Regions from separate parts of the Homo sapiens genome. Here all the other regions are linked to region 4. Evidence: promoter capture Hi-C in 16 types of primary human blood cells and fetal thymus (Javierre and others, 2016). All regions are on one chromosome and are shown on one strand. The core of a region is centred on a gene start or on the middle of the fragment in contact, and the rest is flanking DNA. Distances in the headings are between cores, read along the strand shown.

What was found. Contacts are between HindIII fragments. The CHiCAGO score rates a contact against its expected background, and 5 or more counts as called.
Region 1: a contact is called between a fragment that was not itself captured here and the fragment with the promoter of EHF in region 4, in 2 of 17 cell types (total CD8 T cells and naive CD8 T cells). The highest score is 5.7, in total CD8 T cells.
Region 2: a fragment that was not itself captured here is called in contact with the fragment with the promoter of EHF in region 4 in 1 of 17 cell types (activated CD4 T cells); the score reaches 5.1 in activated CD4 T cells.
Region 3: a fragment that was not itself captured here is called in contact with the fragment with the promoter of EHF in region 4 in 3 of 17 cell types (naive CD4 T cells, activated CD4 T cells and total CD8 T cells); the score reaches 5.4 in naive CD4 T cells.

Annotation. Positions count from the first base shown.
Region 1 is chr11:35,380,818-35,385,606 of GRCh38, reverse strand. The region is part of intron 1 of SLC1A2 (solute carrier family 1 member 2); the gene reads left to right. Among named protein-coding and RNA genes, the nearest start is that of SLC1A2-AS2, 36 kb to the left of the region's middle. The HindIII fragment of the contact is 2,250 bases long and covers 463-2,712 here.
Region 2 is chr11:35,530,453-35,534,963 of GRCh38, reverse strand. No RefSeq gene overlaps it. Among named protein-coding and RNA genes, the nearest start is that of PAMR1, 7.1 kb to the right of the region's middle. The HindIII fragment of the contact is 2,216 bases long and covers 2,154-4,369 here.
Region 3 is chr11:35,474,451-35,478,619 of GRCh38, reverse strand. It overlaps PAMR1 (peptidase domain containing associated with muscle regeneration 1), which reads left to right. Exons shown (of 11, transcript NM_001001991.3): 4 at 3,876-3,990. Among named protein-coding and RNA genes, the nearest start is that of PAMR1, 49 kb to the left of the region's middle. The HindIII fragment of the contact is 665 bases long and covers 985-1,649 here.
Region 4 is chr11:34,618,116-34,622,342 of GRCh38, reverse strand. It overlaps EHF (ETS homologous factor), which reads right to left and starts at 1,250. Exons shown (of 9, transcript NM_012153.6): 1 at 1,115-1,250. RefSeq lists a cis regulatory region at 2,950-3,349. The HindIII fragment of the contact is 6,441 bases long and covers 1-4,227 here.

The sequences.
Region 1 (4,789 bases), core at 338-2,837, 760 kb before region 4:
GCTCATTGTGGAATTGGTATTCTGAGATAACTTACAGGTCCCAAACCATGTCGCTGTAAGGTGTTCTGAGAAAGAACATTTGACTGCTACCCAGACCCCTCTGCAGGTTCTTCTGTTTAGGGAGAATGGGAGGCAAAACACTACAAAACCTGTAGGCTTTAGAAATAGACAGACTAGCTGTGTGACCTTGGGGAAATTGCCTAACTTCTCTGAGCCTCAGTTTGCTCACCTGGTAAAAGGGAGATAATATTTCCCTTTCAGGGTTGTGATGAGGATGAAATGGAAAAACCATCTGATATGTGCTTGTCATAGATTATCAACAGCTGTTACCTCTCTTCTATGTACTGAAAAAGCCATCTGTTACCCTAATTCATAAAAAGGAGGGGAGGGCAGGGATGGTTTGAGCTTGGACATTTTCTGGCCTTTCTCAATGACAATTTAGAATGCAGTGAGGGGAAAGCTTTTATTTTTGAATATTTCTATTTCACTGTCTCACTGGGTCACTCTGGGGCCTCTAGAAATTGTATTCTCCAGATATAGTATGATGTTGTCAGCATATGCATACATTTTTATCACTTCTTTAGTTTATCTTTGTATAAACCACATATATCTGGGAAATTTAACCAACTGCCTTTCTACAAGTGGTGTCATATTTAGGCAGATGGTTACTTTTTGGGTACACAATTGTGTAGGGAAGCCATCTTGCACTGAGACTCTGAGACCATGGGCTTCCCAGCCTTAGCATCTTACTTACTGTCACCTCTCTAGGCTTTAGAGGGGTTGATTATTGGGTTTCTAAAATCCTTCTAAATTTCCCAAATTCTATGGTTCAAAGTCTTTGTGTAACTGTCCAATAGAACAAGCATATAAGTGGCCAAACTTCTGTGATGATACTCCTTTCCCCTAAAGCCAGTGAATCTTCTGAACATTCAGAAATTGGGATACTGGTGAATATGCCACAGTGGAAATGCATAGGTAACTTCAACAAGCAAATAATCTTCAATGATGAATCAATATCTTCTAATCCACTGAGCCTAAAGCTGCAACTGTTTGAGATTCATTAAGGATTCTTAAATCTAACATGTATTTGTCATTTTGAATTATGGCCATATGCTTTGCAGATGGCCTCTGAGTGGGTCTTCCTTATTCAAGAAGGAGTAGGGTCACATTCATTATTTGTACATTACTTTTTTAAAGATTCATGGGATTAAAGGATGAAATCAGAACTCAGACAATCCAGGAGCAACCTGCGTGGATGAGAATAGTCATCTTCCATATTCCACATGGGATCTGTACTTTCAGTTAAAATATTTATATAATTATGGTATCATTAAAAAAGTCATTTCCAGATCTCACTGACTTCGTTGATGAATCACCCACTCACCGGTTTAAGTTACATGTGACAAGACAGCTTCTATTACTATTTTGTTTCTTGTTCTTGGATTCCATGAGATATCTATACTTAGCAATATGATACTCTCCTCTTTTATTTGCACTAGGGTGAACGTATTTCTCTTTCAAGCAACCAAAAAAGTCCTGGCTGGAACAGAGGAGGCGATGGCAGGCCATTGCTAAACTTTGCTGTGTTGTGGCAGTACAGTTTCTGTCCCTTTTATCTTGTTAACTGTCAGTACTCCAAACAAGCGAGTAGAACAATTGCCATCCGTTCAGCATGAAGAACCCCATGGAAGGGATCTAGAGGGAGATGTCACACCATAGATGTACTGAGTGAGATGGTATCATGGTGGCCATTCCTCAAAATATCAGCACTGCCCTCCAGAATCCACCCAGATGACATTGATCAAGCATCTACTGTAAGCCAGACACTTGGAGAGGTGCTGGGAATACAGAGATGAGAAAGACAGGGTATTTGCTCTTGGGTGGTTCATTCCATAATGATAGCAACAACTTATATAGAACCTGTTCTATGCCAGGCATTGTTTTAAATGCTTCATGTATGTTAGCTTGTGTGATCTTCAGAACAACCCCATGAGGTGGGAACTATTCTTACCATCCCTGTTTTATAGACAGGGAAACTGAAACACAGAGAATCTGGGTAACTTGCCCTAGTTACATAGCTAGTGAGGAGCAGAACCAGAATCCAAACCTAAGCAGTCAGCTCCAGAGTTGGGCTCCCCACTGGCACATTCTGCTTGTACTCTCCTTTTCTCTGATAATCCCATGACATCTTTATCTCCTTAAGCCATATAGCATTTTCTTAGGCTTATTTCTTTCATAATAACCATTATAAAAATAACAACAACAAAAAATACTTTCAACCAAAAAAGGCAGAAAAAAGGCAACACAACATAACAAAATTAATTTACCCAGGTCCCATTACTGTTGTCATTTTAGTTTATGTCCTTTAAATTTGTGTCAAACTAACATAGTATTTTCAGGCATGCTTTTTTCTTTTAGGATTATGCCAGAGTTTCCCCACTATATTCTTTTTTGACATAACTTTTAATACACTACCAGTTTGAGTGTTTTCCAGTCATGGCTACACTATACAATTGACTTAACTGATCCCTTACTCTTGGACATGCCTAAAATTCCTCTGTCATAACACTGTTGTGAACATCTTTGCATATGTATTTTTTTCTATATGTCTGATAATTTTCTTAGATGGTGTAGGCTTTTAACTTTTGGAGCGTGCAGGTAGGAAAAGCAGGATCAGTTTTCAGATTCAGATTCAAAAGAAACATTTAAGCTTTTTTCACTCCTAGAGAGCTGGAAACAATAATACCTTAAAGGTCTAAAGCATGATCTAGATCATTCACCTACCCTTTAGGAGGACTTTTTTTTTTTTTTGAGACTGAGTCTCGCTCTGTTGCCCAAGCTGGAGTGCAGTGGCGTGATCGCAGCTCACTGCAACCTCTGCCTCCTGGGTTCAAGTGATTCTCCTGCCTCAGCCTCCCATGTAGCTGGGGCTACAGGCACCTGCCACCACGCCCAGCTAATTTTTGTATTTTTAGTAGAGACAGGGTTTCACCATGTTGGCCAGGCTGGGCTTGAACTCCTGAGCTCAAGTGATCCACCCACCTCGGCCTCCCAAAGTGCTGGGATTATAGGCGTGAGCCACCGCACCCAGCCTTAGGAGGAATGTTAAAACTTATGCTTTGTCCTTTTGGAAATATCATGTATCTTCTTCCTATGAAATGGATTCATGATGTTCCATTATAAGTTAGCTAAACAAAGATTTCACTGGTCTAGTTGCCCCTGTGGCCCATCTTGAAGAATCACTCTATGGAATGATGGGCAATCAAACACAAGAGGATCAGGAAGAAACAAAATAGGTTTAACAGAATCTCTGTAATAGTGAAAATATCGACAGGTTGACAAGGACCACAGGGAAAGCACAGTATGAAACAAATGGTAAGTAAAGGTCCAACAAGTGGTGGGTGATTCAGTGAAGAGACAGCAATGCAGAGTGGTTACCACGGGCCTTGTAGGAACATGGAGCTGAGTTTGATTTCATTTCTTAGTTTCTGTGTCATCTTGCACAAGTTGTTCCATTTTTCTAAGCCTCAGTATCTTCATCTGTAAAATGGGCATGTTATCATACCTGCTTCATAAGGTTGTTGTGGGAATCTAACCAATCATGTAAGTACAGATACAGTTACTGTTTGTTGGCTTTGTGCAGGGTACTGTATTTTTACAATTTCATCATCATTTTCTTCATTGTCACTTCACTCAGTGGAAGGGGACTATGTGATAAGAGATCAGTACTCATTGTTGCAGAACATGAAATCATCATAGTTGTGTGTTTCTGGGAAAGACAATAAATTAAAAGGTGCAATATGACACTTACAAGAAATACGTACTCCCCTTTGTTTTCCTGAAGTACAAAGTAGGATCAGGTTGGAATTTCCCGCCTGTCTTCTGAGGCAAACAAGAGCAGTTTGGGGGCCTCGCTGAGGGGGCTGGTGTCCTCTGAACCAGCAGGGTAGGCATGAGTGGACAGGCTGTGGCTTGTACTTCAGTGTCCCTCTGATGTTTTTAAAAATTGACAGCTATTGAAGATTTTTCGGGCTGTTCTTGGTGGGACTCAAACTCAAAGAGAAAGAAGGGGTGATCTTTATGGGTAAGGTAACTGGGATGTCTAGGGATTCAGCAGGCTTTGGATACAGCAGACAGAGGGCTGAAAGGCTATCTAGACTTTGCTACTCTCCCCATCTTTTGGTTGGGTTTTCTTCTGGGTTGTTGTCCTTTCAGGCAATGATGGGTTTGGCAGCTCAAGACTTACAGCATCCTCAGAGAAAATGATTTCAGCAATGGAAAGTGCCTCTTTTCTGATACTTCTAGGAAGAGGCCCAGAGAAGAGTCTCATTGGCTGGGCTTCAGCCACACCCATTCTTGGGCTGACCACTGTAGGAAAGGATTGCTCTGATTGCCCAGTCTGGATCACCGTGTGATGACAATCACACGATGGGATGACATGGAAAAGGTGGCTGCCCAAAAAGCTGCCCGAATGATGAAAATAAGAGAAAAGAAACAAAGGGATGAAAGGAGGAAAATATATGTGGCTACTGCAAACTCTTAAAAAAATCTCATAATTGAGTAACTTATACCTGAGCTCTGTAATACTTCACTCCAACTTAGTTTGTCAAGGAGTTTTCTTTTCTTTTCCTTCTCTTTTCTTCTACCTCCATCCCCACTACGTGTAATTTTGTCAGATGTTGTCTTCTATTGCCTGAAACTTTAGCAGTCACTGTGAATCCTGTTTCTTTAAGCCCAGGGTGTCATTGGGAGCATAACAGTCATCCAGTGCAGCTCAGCTTCTCCCTAC
Region 2 (4,511 bases), core at 2,012-4,511, 910 kb before region 4:
CAAGCTGAGAGAGGGGCACTGGACAGCCATGGAGGATGGCATGTGGGTCTGGAGTTTCCACTCATGAAGCTTGATTGTTCCCTCTGGTCCTGCTTGGGTTTGATTCTGGATGGACCATTTCCATCTTAAGATGGATTGCCATGGGCTTGTATAACTTTAGGACTTGGAGGGTCTGATAGAACTCAGCTCATGATGGAGAGTTTCATACTTGGGGTCATTTGATACCCCAGGGTCAGGTGTTCTATGTCCACTGGGGTCTAGGAACATTCCAGTATTCACTCTTCAAAAAGCATAGAATTCTCTGCTGCAGATGGCATGACCTTGGTCCAGAACATCAGGGGCTTAAGTTGATTCTCCCACTGGGGCTTGCATAGATCCATAATGCACCTTTTGCCCCCATTGACATCTCCAACACAAAATCTTTTGCCAGGTCATATGTTCCATGTGGCCAAGCTACTTGCATTACAGCCGGGACTGACTATAGATCCCTTTGTTGCTCCAGGCCCTATGCAGTCAGCTACCTTTTAGGTCTCCTGGGTTGAAGTGGCATTGAGAGGTGTGAAATGTATTGTCTCCAGAGCCCAACCAAAGAAGGGTTCTGGAGGCAACCAATGCCAGACATTGTACTTCATTCTTTGTAATAGAGGATGCAAGATGCAGCATTTTATCCTTTACTTTGAACAGGATCTCTCAGCATTCTCCTAATCACTGGATCCCTAACAATTTTACCAATGCACCATGTTCATGCAGCTACATAGAGTTTATCTCCTACCATCTGAAGTGAGTTGTTTCACCAAGGCCTCCAGTGTGCTAGCCACCTTTTACTCTCCCTGCTCTGTTATTGATGTAATGGATCAATGTGTTATCCTGCAAGATGTCCAGATACTCCAGATTGTTTCTGACTACATTGTGATGACTGCAAGAGAGTTAACATACACTTGGGACAGTACCATACATGCATATTATTGTCCATTGCACATGAACAAAATTGTTTCTGATTCTCTTCTCTGATTGTAACAGAAAAGAACTCATTGGCTGCATATCACGCACCTGAGTTGACATAGATCTTCTCTAGCAATGAGACCATGCATGATAAGGCAGCCATAATTGGATCTACTACTTGGTTGAACATGTGGTAATCTACAATTATTCTACATTTGGCAGGGACTAGACTGGTGAATTAAGTTGAGATAGGGATATATGACAGAGTTTATCATCGCTGCGTCATTAAGATCTTTAGGGGTGACAACAATCTCCAACTATACCCTTTGAATGTGATATTGTCTTGATTCACTATCTTAGTGAGAGGATGGCAGTTTCAGAGCCTTTTCCCCTGTACCCTCATTGACTGGGGGCTGCCTGGGAAGAATGTGGCCTTGGCTCAAATGTGGGAGTTAGGTCATTTTGGATAGGCTTGAGAGGGTCCCCACATATCCTGAAACCGTAAGCAAATATCAGAATGCATGTATATTTTTCTAGAATCCATACCTTTTTATTGAATTCTCAAAGGATTCTTTAACACTCAAACGATAAAGTTACACTGATATGAAGCCTCCCTTGATCCTTCCATTTTCTCCAGGCCCTTTTCATATTCTTTCTTGTTTAAAGAGTTGATGATGTACTTCGATGCCAGCTGCTCTGGCCTTCTTTGTGCTCTGCAAGAACACTAAGCCCATTCCCAGCTCAGGCCTTTTGCATTAGCTGTTCCCTCTGCCTAGAGTGTCCTTTCCTCAGAGGCTCCCATGGATGGTTTTCTTTTTTTTTTGTTAACCTCAGTTTTCAGTTTAAATGTCACCTTCTCATAGAGGCCTGCCCTGATTCCACAAAATAGTCACTTTCTAGCATATTCTCCTGTTTCATTTCTAACACTATCATCATCTGGTTTTCTTTCTTTATTGCATATTTTTGTCTGGCAGTAAGTGAACTCCATAAAAATGGGAATCATTCATCTTGCTCACCATGTTATCCCCACTGCCTAGAATAGTGCCTGGCGTATAGCAGACACTCAAAATGGTTTCTGAAATAAATCGATAAATGCTTGTTTTCTTTATCCGTCTGAAAATGGTTTCCTATGTGTTCCCCCCTTATGTCATCTTTATAGCGCTATAAAATTTATATATAATTATAAACAATCCAAGCATATAAAAAAAGCTTAGGTAATAACAGATACCTATGTACTCATCTCAAAGATGAAACAGATGTTAACATTTTGCTTCAATTATTTCAAATTTTGCCTGTGCTTCTTTTAAATTTTTGCTAAAAATTTCATACCCCATATTTTGCTCTGCGCTTCCTTCTCAGCAGTAACTGCTATCTTAAAGAAAGAAATGTCATTTCTTTATATGTTTTAGTAGTTTAATGATATGTGCTTATATTTATAAATAATGCATGCTATTTTTTGTATGTTCTGAGATTTTATATAAATGCTTGCATGCTGTAGATATCTTTTGGTAATTTGGTCCTGGGTATTTTACATTGTTGTTGAGCCACAGGATTAAACAACTCTGGAGCCATTCTACCTGTGGGCTTATTGTTATATGAGAAAATAAAATTCCTTGTTATTTAAGCCACATGAATTTGGTTTGTTTTTATGTACAGGGAAGCCTCCTAACTGCGATAATCTAACTCTATTTAAACATTCCTCGTTGTTGAGTCCTTAGGCTCAATAATATCTATATTAAATGTGGCTGGGCTGGCAGTTTTCATTTGGCTGCATGTTTACTGATATATAGACAGTTTTAGTTTCTCCTTTAACCCATGTTGCCCAATCCAGAAACCTTTTGTATTTGTATTTTATTTCTGTGTGCTATGGTCTGATTGTTTATGATTTCCCCCAATTTATATATTTAACACTAATCCCCACTGTTACAATGTTTGGAGGTGGAGCCTTTGGGTGATGGTTAAGTCATGAGGGTGGAGCCCTCATGAATTGGATTGGTAGATGCATATGGGGCTGTCCTAGTACAATCAGGCTGCTATAAGAAAAATACAATTTATAGACAATAGAAATTTATTGCTCACAATTCTGGAGGCTGGGAAGTCCAAGCCCATAGTGTCAGCAGACTCAGTGTCTGGTGAGGGCTCACTCTCTGCTTCATAGATGGTGCCTTCTTGCTGTGTCCTAACATTGCAGAAAGAGCAAACAATCTCCCTCAGGCCTCTTTTATAAGAATACCAATCTCCTTCATGAAGGCTCTGCCCTCATGACCTAGTCACACCCTCAAGTTCCCACCTCTTAATACCACCACATTTGGGATTAGGTTTCAATACATTTTTAGGGTACACAAACATTCAGACCATAGTGGTGACTGAAGAGATCAGGGCTCTTCCCTTCCACCATGTGAGGACTCAGCTGTGAACCACATCATCTGTGAACCAGAAAGTGAGACCTCACCAGACAACAAATCTCCTGGGACTTTGACCTTGGAATTCGCAGCCTTGAGGACTGAGAGAAATACATTTCTGTTGTTTATAAGCCACCCAGTTTATGGCATTTTATTCAGCAGCCTGAATGAACTAACACATTTAGTTGCTTAAAACAATAAAATGCATTATCTTGCCCAGTTTCTGACTGTCAGGAATCTGGGAGCAGCTTAGCTGGGTGGTTCTGGCTAGGAGTCTCTCATGAGGTTGCAGCCAAGTTGCTGGCTGGGGCTGCAGTCATTTGAAGGACTGGGGGATATGTTCTCAAGCTCATTCAGGTGACTACTGTCAAGAGGCTTCACTTCCTCTCCATGTAAGACTCTCCACAGGGTTGTTCCCAGATTCTCCCAGACAGAGTAATCTGAGAGAGACAGAGAACAAAGGGGCTCCTCCAGCACACCACCATGCACCAGCCACCACCACATGGTCATTAAACTGGGAATCATCTTTGACTGCTCTCTCACTGTTATCCTCCATGTATCATCAATCACAGATCTCATCCTTCTAACCTCCTCAGTGCCTCTCAGTTCAAGCCACTTCTCTCCATCCTATTTTTAACAACTCCAAGATGAGGTGCTCATAGATAGATAGTTACAGTAGTTATAATATTAAAAAATGGTACACATTGATTGAGCTCCTATTATGTATAACAGCATCATTGTAGTCTTCTCACCAAAATTCAGAGGTAGCTATTACCCCTTTTGACAGAGGAGGACACTGAAACTCAGAGGGACTGATGGACTTGCCCAGGTTCATACATAGTAGAGCCTTGATCCATATGGGGATCTTTTCACCACAGTGACTTTTTTGTGTGCCACTGTACTCCATTACCTTCTCTTGGAGTTATTCTATTTTTTGTTTTCTTCCCTACCCAAATGACTCAACTGTTTTTGAGTTAGCCACTTGGACTGTGGTCAACGTTTTTGCCAGTGTTCTCTGTAAAGCTTTGCAGTTCAGTTGCATAGCAGACAACATTTTTAAAAATTGAAGTTTATAAATATACATATGGATGTCAAGAACAGGTTTCCCCAAGTGATTCAGGAGCATATTAACTATGAAGGAGAAAAGCTTGCCGACTTTCAGCAATT
Region 3 (4,169 bases), core at 68-2,567, 860 kb before region 4:
CTCTCCAAGTAGAGGCAAGAGTGGAGAGGGAATTGAAGGCATTCCTTGATGTGGGGAGGGAGCGCTCCCTCCTCCTCTTGCTGTTTCCCTAATATACCTTCTTCCAAACACATTTCCAAGAAGTGGCCCCTTTGTCTCTGGTTGTTTGGAAGTTGTTCCCCATCTTGGGGCCAACTCTGCCCTCCCCTTCAGAGTGAAAGGAACCTCATTAAGAAGAATGGAGATGTTGCATGTGTTTAGAATCCTGGCTGCTTCTGAAGGACAGCCCCTGAGGCTACAGGAACAGGTGGTCCAGCATTTCACATGGCCAGGGATCGGGCATCTGGGTGAGGATGGGGACTGAGCCCTCCAGAGACTGCAAGAGACCCTGGAGCTGGCCAAAGCCCAAATGGATGTGCCAAGGAAGCCTAAATGGGGATGAGCACCGCCTTCCCTTGGATTTGGGGAGGGGCCTGAGGCACAGCTGGCTGCTTCCAGCTTCCATATGGAGAGAAGAAACTGGGAGCAGGCTGGCAGGATTTGCTGCTGGTTCTAAATTGGGATCCCCAGCAGGAGGTTTGCTGAGGGAGCTGGGATTTAACACCTTACAGGCTGGGAAGCTGCCAGTCCCTGAGGGACGGGGGCTGTGCAGGAAGGCTTCTTTTGTTGTCTCTCACACCCTGCATATCACTTCCGTAGCCCAGCAGCAGATGGGTAGATGGGGGCGATGAGGAGTGTGAGGTGTGCAGAGAAGGAACGTGCATTTCAAAAAGGGAGCGGGCAAAAATTCCATGTATCTCTCTTAGGGGTGGAAAAATTCTGCCGTTTCAAAATGGAGTGGGAGAGGACTGGGTCAGAATGCCCCTAAGACAGTTTAACATATCAGCAAAGACTCAGCGTTGATACTAGACAGATCCAAGGTCATATCTCTGCTCTGCCACTCGATACAAACAGCTAACATTTACTAATTTTCCTGCTAAGAGTTTGCCATGCACGATTTAAGCTTCACAAAACCGTATACAGTAGCTGCCACTTTTATTCACATTTGATTCAAGTTGACTGAGGTTCTGACAAAGGAAGTAACTTGCCCAAGGCTGCACGGCTAGGGAAAATAAAGCTGAGTTTCAAACCAAGGGCAGTCAGATTCTGCAGTCTCTATTCTTAACCACTGCTTTACCATTAGGATAACGATTTACAGTCTTCTAACTTCCTGGCATCTGAGTTTAGGGAAATCACTTAACTTCTCCATCTTTAGTGTTCCACATCTAGAAAATGGGGAGATGAATGTTGTTCTCTGTGTTTTTTTATGAAGACTAAATGAGAAAATACAAATGATAATATCAACATCCTTTTATTCAACAAATATGCAGTGAGCACCTGTTATATGCCAGGTACCATTCTAGGTGTACAAGCTAGAAAAGATCCCAGCTCTATCAAAGGGAGTAGGCAAGTAAGTGAGATAATTTCAAATAGGCGTGTGTATTATGAAGGAAACAAAGCAGAGTAATAATATTGACCATAGAATTGGGAGGGCCTGTTTTAGCTGGATAGCAAGGAAGGCCTCTTTGAAGAAGTGGCAGTCGAACTTATTATTTTTATTATTCTATGTTTTTAGATGAAGTCTTGCTCTGTCACCTAGGCTGGAGTGCAGTGGTGCAATCATATAAGCTTAATTCTTACAGGAAAGAGATGCAGAAGAAGATGAGCCTTCTAGGTTTAGAAAACAGCAAGTACAAGGGCCGGAGTTGGGCACAGAAAGTAGGCTGTGTCTAGGGCAGTGGGGACAAGCAGATGAGTGGTATGTGAGACTGGGAGGAGTGTGGGTTTAGGCAGCCAGCAAGGCAGAGCTGCAAATAACATAGGAAGGTGTCTGCACAGTGGAGAACCTTTGGAGGGCTTGAATCAAGAAGATAATGTGATCTGATTAATTTATTTAAAAGGTGGCTTTGGATGCTAGGTGGACAACAGTATGTTCGGGAACAAGGGTGAATGGCGGGTGTATTTGTTTTCACTCTGCTATGTAGAAATATCTGAGACTGGGTAATTTATAAAGGAAAGAGGTTTAATTGACTCACAGCTCCGTGTGGCTGGGGAGGTCTCAGGGATCTTACAATCATGGCAGAAGGGGAAGCAAACGCGTCCTTCTTCACATGGCAGCAGGAGAGAGAAGTGCCAAGCGAAGGTGGAAAACCCCTTATAAAACCATCAGATCTCATGAAAACTCACTCACTATCACAAGAACAGCATGAAAGTAACCTTTCCCATGATTAAATTACATCCCACCAGGTCCCTCCTATGACATGTGGGGATTATGGGAACTACAAAGATGAGATTTGGGTGGGGGCACAGCCAAACCGTATTACTAGGAGATGAAGGAGGAGATGAGATTACAGAGAGAGATGATGGAGGCTGGGGCTAGACAGGAGCCCCAAGTGGAAACTGGTGGATGATGCTTTCCATCATTGGCACAGGGCAGCAGCAATAAAGATCTTAGTGAAGAGATAGATTGTATGACCTAGCAGTAGTTTTCACAAAAGTAAGAAGCCTCAGACCTCATAGCTTTGTCAAAAGTGGAGTTTGGGCTCTTTTCCTAACACTAGAAATATTACTACTGTCATCTTGCCATGGTGCAGTATCCACTAGTAATATTTTTATTTTTAGTTATGAAATTTTGTACTTTTGGGGAGTTATTGAATATAACTATGCATCCAAGTTTAAGAAGGCAATCTGGATTTCTGTATAGAAATAGGGAAGGTAAACTTTTTATGTGAATAGCCGGATAGTAAGTATTTTCATTTTCATGGGGCCTACTGTCTCTTGCTATAATTACTTAACTCTGCCATGATAGTCCAAAAACAGCCATAGGCAATACATAAATGAATGGGTGTCACTGTGTTCCAATAAAACCTTATTTTCAAAAGGAGGCAGTGGGCTGTATTTGGCCCAAGGATCATAGTGTGCAACCCCCAGGTAGAGAATATCATTTATTTCATGATCCAAATAATTTTTCCATAGAGCCACTTCAAGACATTTTCCCCAAACTTTTGGGTACAAAAATACAGTGCATTTTCTATACCTGTGCTTATCTTAACACTAGAAAACATGATCTAATTTAAAGACTATTCAATACGGTGGTTTTCAAATCTTAGGGATTCCTTGGAGGTAACTCAGCAGACTAGGTAAGGATCGGGGTGGAGGGTTTTGGGCCCCTACTTCTGCTTTAACCAGGAGCCCCTTTTTTATACATTGAGTTTTATTGGTGATCTTGATAGGACTTTATTTGAACAAAAGGGGTTGGGAGCAAGAAAAGAATGAGAAAATCATCAATCCAGTCCAACTGGTTGGAAATCATCTCTCCTTTCCACTGTCATGCATTAAAGAGGCATTTATTACATAACTACTCATAGAATAAATTAATGCCTTGATTTCCTGCCTGGATGGTGGAGGAAAGTGAGTAGAGCTGTGGGGAGGGTCTACTTTCTGAGCCTTTTAAGGTAGGGGCAGCAGGCTGGCATTTGTCAGGCCTGGAGAGGAAGGATGATAGGGTGGCTCGAACTTTACATTCAAACACAGTTAGGTTTGAGTCTTTGCTCCGTCACTTAGCGGCTAGACAAGTTATTTATTTAACTCTCTGATCATCTATCTGTTTTCCCAGCTGGAAAATTGTGAGGACACCACTTCCCTTCCCAAGCTGTTGGGTGGATTAAATGAATTAATCTATGTAAATTGCCTGGCACATTGCCAGCTGCTTGAGAAACATTAATTTCCTTCTTCCTTTTCCCTATTCATCCTGTTCTCAGGGGTGTGGCATGTGCTCAAAGTCTCGTTGAGACCTTCTCTAGTCTCTTTCCTATTGACCTCCATTTTTATGTCCCAATCTTTTCTTCTTTTCTTAGGATGTGGCCAGGTTCTGCGAGCCCCAAAGGGTCAGATTTTGTTGGAAAGCTATCCCCTAAATGCTCACTGTGAATGGACCATTCATGCTAAACCTGGGTTTGTCATCCAACTAAGGTAAGGAGCTGGGGCCAGAAGTCAGGAGTCTGAGGTTATAAGGATACAGAAATGGGATGGAAGGCTCTTGGTCACTGGGATCCTCTGGAGCCTTTGTATATTGGAGCCTTTCTCTTTACCACTCTGATTCTCTGGGATAAGGCCTGGCTGAAACTGCAGCCAACTAAATGCTTGTCATC
Region 4 (4,227 bases), core at 1-2,500:
CCCTGTTACCAAGGTGAGTGCAGATAACCAGCAGAGACACCTGTGAACTTGAACCCAGAAGCATACACTCTCCATCTTAAAAACACACACTCCCACCATCCTGGGAGCATGGTAAATCAGCAAAGATGGACGGTGAAAATGTCGCTTTCTCACCTCAGCCTGATATTTACCAACAAGAAGTTAATTTCCCACTGTTCCCAGATCAGTCCACATTGGGGCTAACACTTCTCCACAATGTCCAAGCAAAATCAAAAGAATCCCTGTCTCAGAAGGCATTTGTTGCTGCTGAGTCACAACTGCCTGTCTGATCATAGTCTCCCAAAATGGAGTAAACAAAGGGTTAGTTTGTCCCCTTGTTACACAGTGAAGCCCTTTGCCAAAACTGATTGTTGTATTTTCTGGACAAAATGGAGTAAACAAAGGGTTAGTTTGTAAACAAAGGGTTAGCTTGTCCCCTTGTTATACAGTGAAGCCCTTTGCCAAAATTGATTTTTGTTTTTTCTGAATTTTTGTTTTTGTAGATATTCAGCTCTCCCCAATACCTCTGCCTGCCTTGGCTGCCTGGCCACTTTTTCCAGTGTGATTGTGTATGTTCTTGCCTATTTCTAGCCATTTTCCAGTCCTGGAACATATTAAAAACAAATTGGCCTTTCCATGTAGCTCATAAGTCAGAAAAATTACCAGCAGAAGACATCTCTAGAAAGCGAGACCGTGTACTCTGAGCCCTAACAGCTACTTAGCCAACCACTTCTTCTCTGAGCTATATCAGAGCCACCTATCTCTAGCTGCCTATTTGTTCCAGAAGAATTCAACCCAGGGGAATGGTTTTGCCACCCAGGCATAGGGAAACGAGGGGGCTTTTAAATTCACAGAGATTAGAAGTCCAGACAATGCAGGAAATTCACAGATAATATCCAAAGTAGCCAACCTGCCCTCCAAAATAAAATTCTGATTTGACCCAGTGAGGTAAGCCCAGGTAAGGTGAGCTTCACTTCCTGCCAGCCGTCTCCAAGAGTCTGTTCTAGTTTCATCTGTCCAGTTTAAAGCAGGCTTCTCTTTCCACTCAAGTGTTTGGATTCCAGATTCAAAAGAAGTTTTAAAAATCAGGACTTACCTCATTTACCTAAAGATTCTGGGTGGGAAATCCAATAGCTGTGGCTGTTGGAGGGGAGGCAGCAGGCTGCAATCTCACCAGCTCCTATAGGGATGGGGCACCACGGGTGTTATCAAGTCTGAGCCCTCATCAGAGTGAAGATAAATGCATATAACAATAATTTTAAATCATTTTGTAGGATGTTAAGCAATAAGCCACCAACCGGGAATTCCCTAAGTCACTTCCCCCTCTTCTGATTGGCTACCCAGCCCTTTAAAAAAATAAAATAAAGGATTACAAACACTGGCTCATTTGCATTTGGCCAACTCACACGTTAGTGTTCAAACAAAACAGGTCTAACCAGGTAATGCCTGTGTCTCAAGAACAGAGAGACAACCTGTTAATGGATGAGGAATTGATTTGGTGGTGACTGTTCTTTTCAGCTCAGAGGCTGTTTCAGGTGAAAAGCACCCTGCTCACCAAAGACACCATCGGGAAGAGGGAATGTAAAAGCAAAGTGAGTAGAAGTCCAAATCTGGAGGAGATGATGGTATGGAGGGGCCCTCTTGAGCACCTGTCTCATTTATTAGTCTGTATTTAGTCCACCCTGCTTTGGCATCAAGATCTTTTCCCTAGCTCTATAAGTACCAGGCTCTGAAGGGGCTCCCAGCAAGTTCCCTCTCCAGGCACCATGACTGCCTTCTTGACAGAGACTCTTGGCAATTCAATGGACTTTGAAAAGCCTATCTCCCCTGGCCCCAGGTAAGAGCCTTGAGAGGTTTGAAAGGGAAGGTCCTGGGAGGGAGGGTACCTTATGAGGAGATGCTTAGGTCAAGCAGTCAACTCTCAAATATGCAAGAGCTGATTATCCGGTTGGTGGATTATCTAGGTTCTTCACTTCCTCTTGACACTTACATGATCTTTTTTAAAAGGTTTATTGACACTCCCTATAAGAGTTAGAGATGAGAAGACCAAAATGCTGAAACTGGAAATAAAAAAGCACAGTTTGGACAAGAAGAAGGTGGAATATTAGGGAGGATCTACGGATTCAAATACCCAGGCAACCTCTATTCCCTTGGGCCAAGGGACATATGGGGAGTTACCTGTACCTGCTTCACTGGGTCACAAATGTACCTTCTCCCATACGGGTGAATGACTGCTCCTAGCAAAGAAAAATACCATCCCCCAACCATTAACTTTCTCTGTTGAACCTTCCAGGACACTGGCCTGGCATGAGCAAAGTGTCTAAGCAGATTTCTTTGACTCAACGGGCCTCCCTTTTGTGGGAGAGGGAAGGGAAGTTGAGATTTGGCAGAGATAAAGATTTTGTGATCAAAACCAAGAAGTTACTTGTGTTAAAAAGAAAAAAAAAGGTCTGCTTATGGTCAAAGGCTGACTGAATAGAATAAAAACTGGTTATTATATTAAGGGGGAACAGTGAGTGTGCAGTAGTATTAGTCTTTTCTTACTTATTTTTTCTAGTTTCTACACAAATTCAGAGGTTTCTGAAAGTGTAAAAGACTCAGTGGGAAAACAAGGGTGGACTTGGGAAGGTCTTGGAAGCTGGGCAGGTCTTGAAGAAGGGCTTGAGGCTTTGGTCAGTGCAGTTTAGGGGAGTTCTAATAAATCCCTCTGCCTCCCTAACCTGCCCCAGACATTCCCACCCTTCCCAACTGTTCAACCCTGTGAACTTGCCAAGGGCCCTGTGAAAATGCAAATGTAAACCCCGCCCCATATACACACTGATAAAAACAACAAATTTCATTATTTCCCATTATCACATTAGCCCCAATTAGTCTATCAGTTCCAGATCTGAGAGCAGGGCCCTGAGGGAATGGCCTGCTGGAGTTTTGCTTGAGAGACAAATCAGGCACAACCTGAAGTAACTACATTCCACCCACTGCAGGGCATTTGTGTGTAGTGATGGTGAAGGGGGGTGGGTGGCGGGGCACTCATGAGAAAAGGGAAGCATTATTGCTAGAGCCCGTGGGACTCCAGGGAAACAAACTTGGCCTTCTTTACACCATTGCCTGAGATTAACCTGAGACAGCAGGGTGGGAGTAGAAGGGCTAGGGTTGTGTGGTCAAGAGATAGTGAACTTCAAATGCAACCACAAAAGTGATGTGGCTCTCTGACCCAGTCCCAATCACCTTTAATTATAGGCCCTGTAATTTATAGCTGAAGAATTCTGGTTAAATCTCCATTTCTTTATCCACTTGTATTTAGTCCATTTTAGATTGGAGGGCTATTGAGACGAGTCATATTGGGGTAGTGATGGTGGGAGGGGAGGGAAAGATGTCACCTCATACTCACAAGCCACTTTATTTGTGGAGGTTTTTTTGTAAATAAAGTACCTAAAAGTGTGCCTGCTACTTGCTGGGTACTTATTAAGTATTGATTCTTCTTTTTACTTGGGTCTTAGTTGAACCTTCCAGAAGAAAAACAAAAATGAAAACAATACCCCTCACCCCCAACCTAAAAAAAAAAACACAAAAAAGCTAGAATTGCAGGTATATTGCATCCATACGGAAAGTCCTTTGGAGTTTGAGGTCTTTCACCCTACTGCCAACTTCAACAAGACAGTACTGGCGATAGATAGATAGATGATAGATAGATAGATAGATAGATAGATAGATAGATAGATAGATAGATAGATGATAGATAGATAATGATGGGATGAGATGGATGTCTCAAGGCCTTCTACTACAAGTCTCAGATATATCAAGTATGTCCTTTATGGATAAGAAGTTTAAAGTGTAATCACAAAATCATCAAACACAGCAGATCCTTAATATGGACACATTGTAAGTTCTCAAGGAGGACTCTGGCAAGAGAGACCTCCAGCACTTGTTCTGTGCTCCTGAATTCTCTGGGGGGCTGATAAAGACATAGCAAAATGAACAGAGTGATAAACAAAGCTGATTGTCTTTATTCTGTGGATGGGAAGAATCAAGAGAGAGAGGCCAAGCAGCTTGCCCTCAAATCAACTGAAACAAACTCTAGAAACCCAATTACTCTGCATAGAAATCTTCCTGGTTGTCCCTACAGGTCAAGGCCCTATCACCCTCTCCAACCTGTGCACAGACACAGAGCCCTTGAGTTGAGTCCTGTGCTGGTCCCCACAGAGGAAAAGG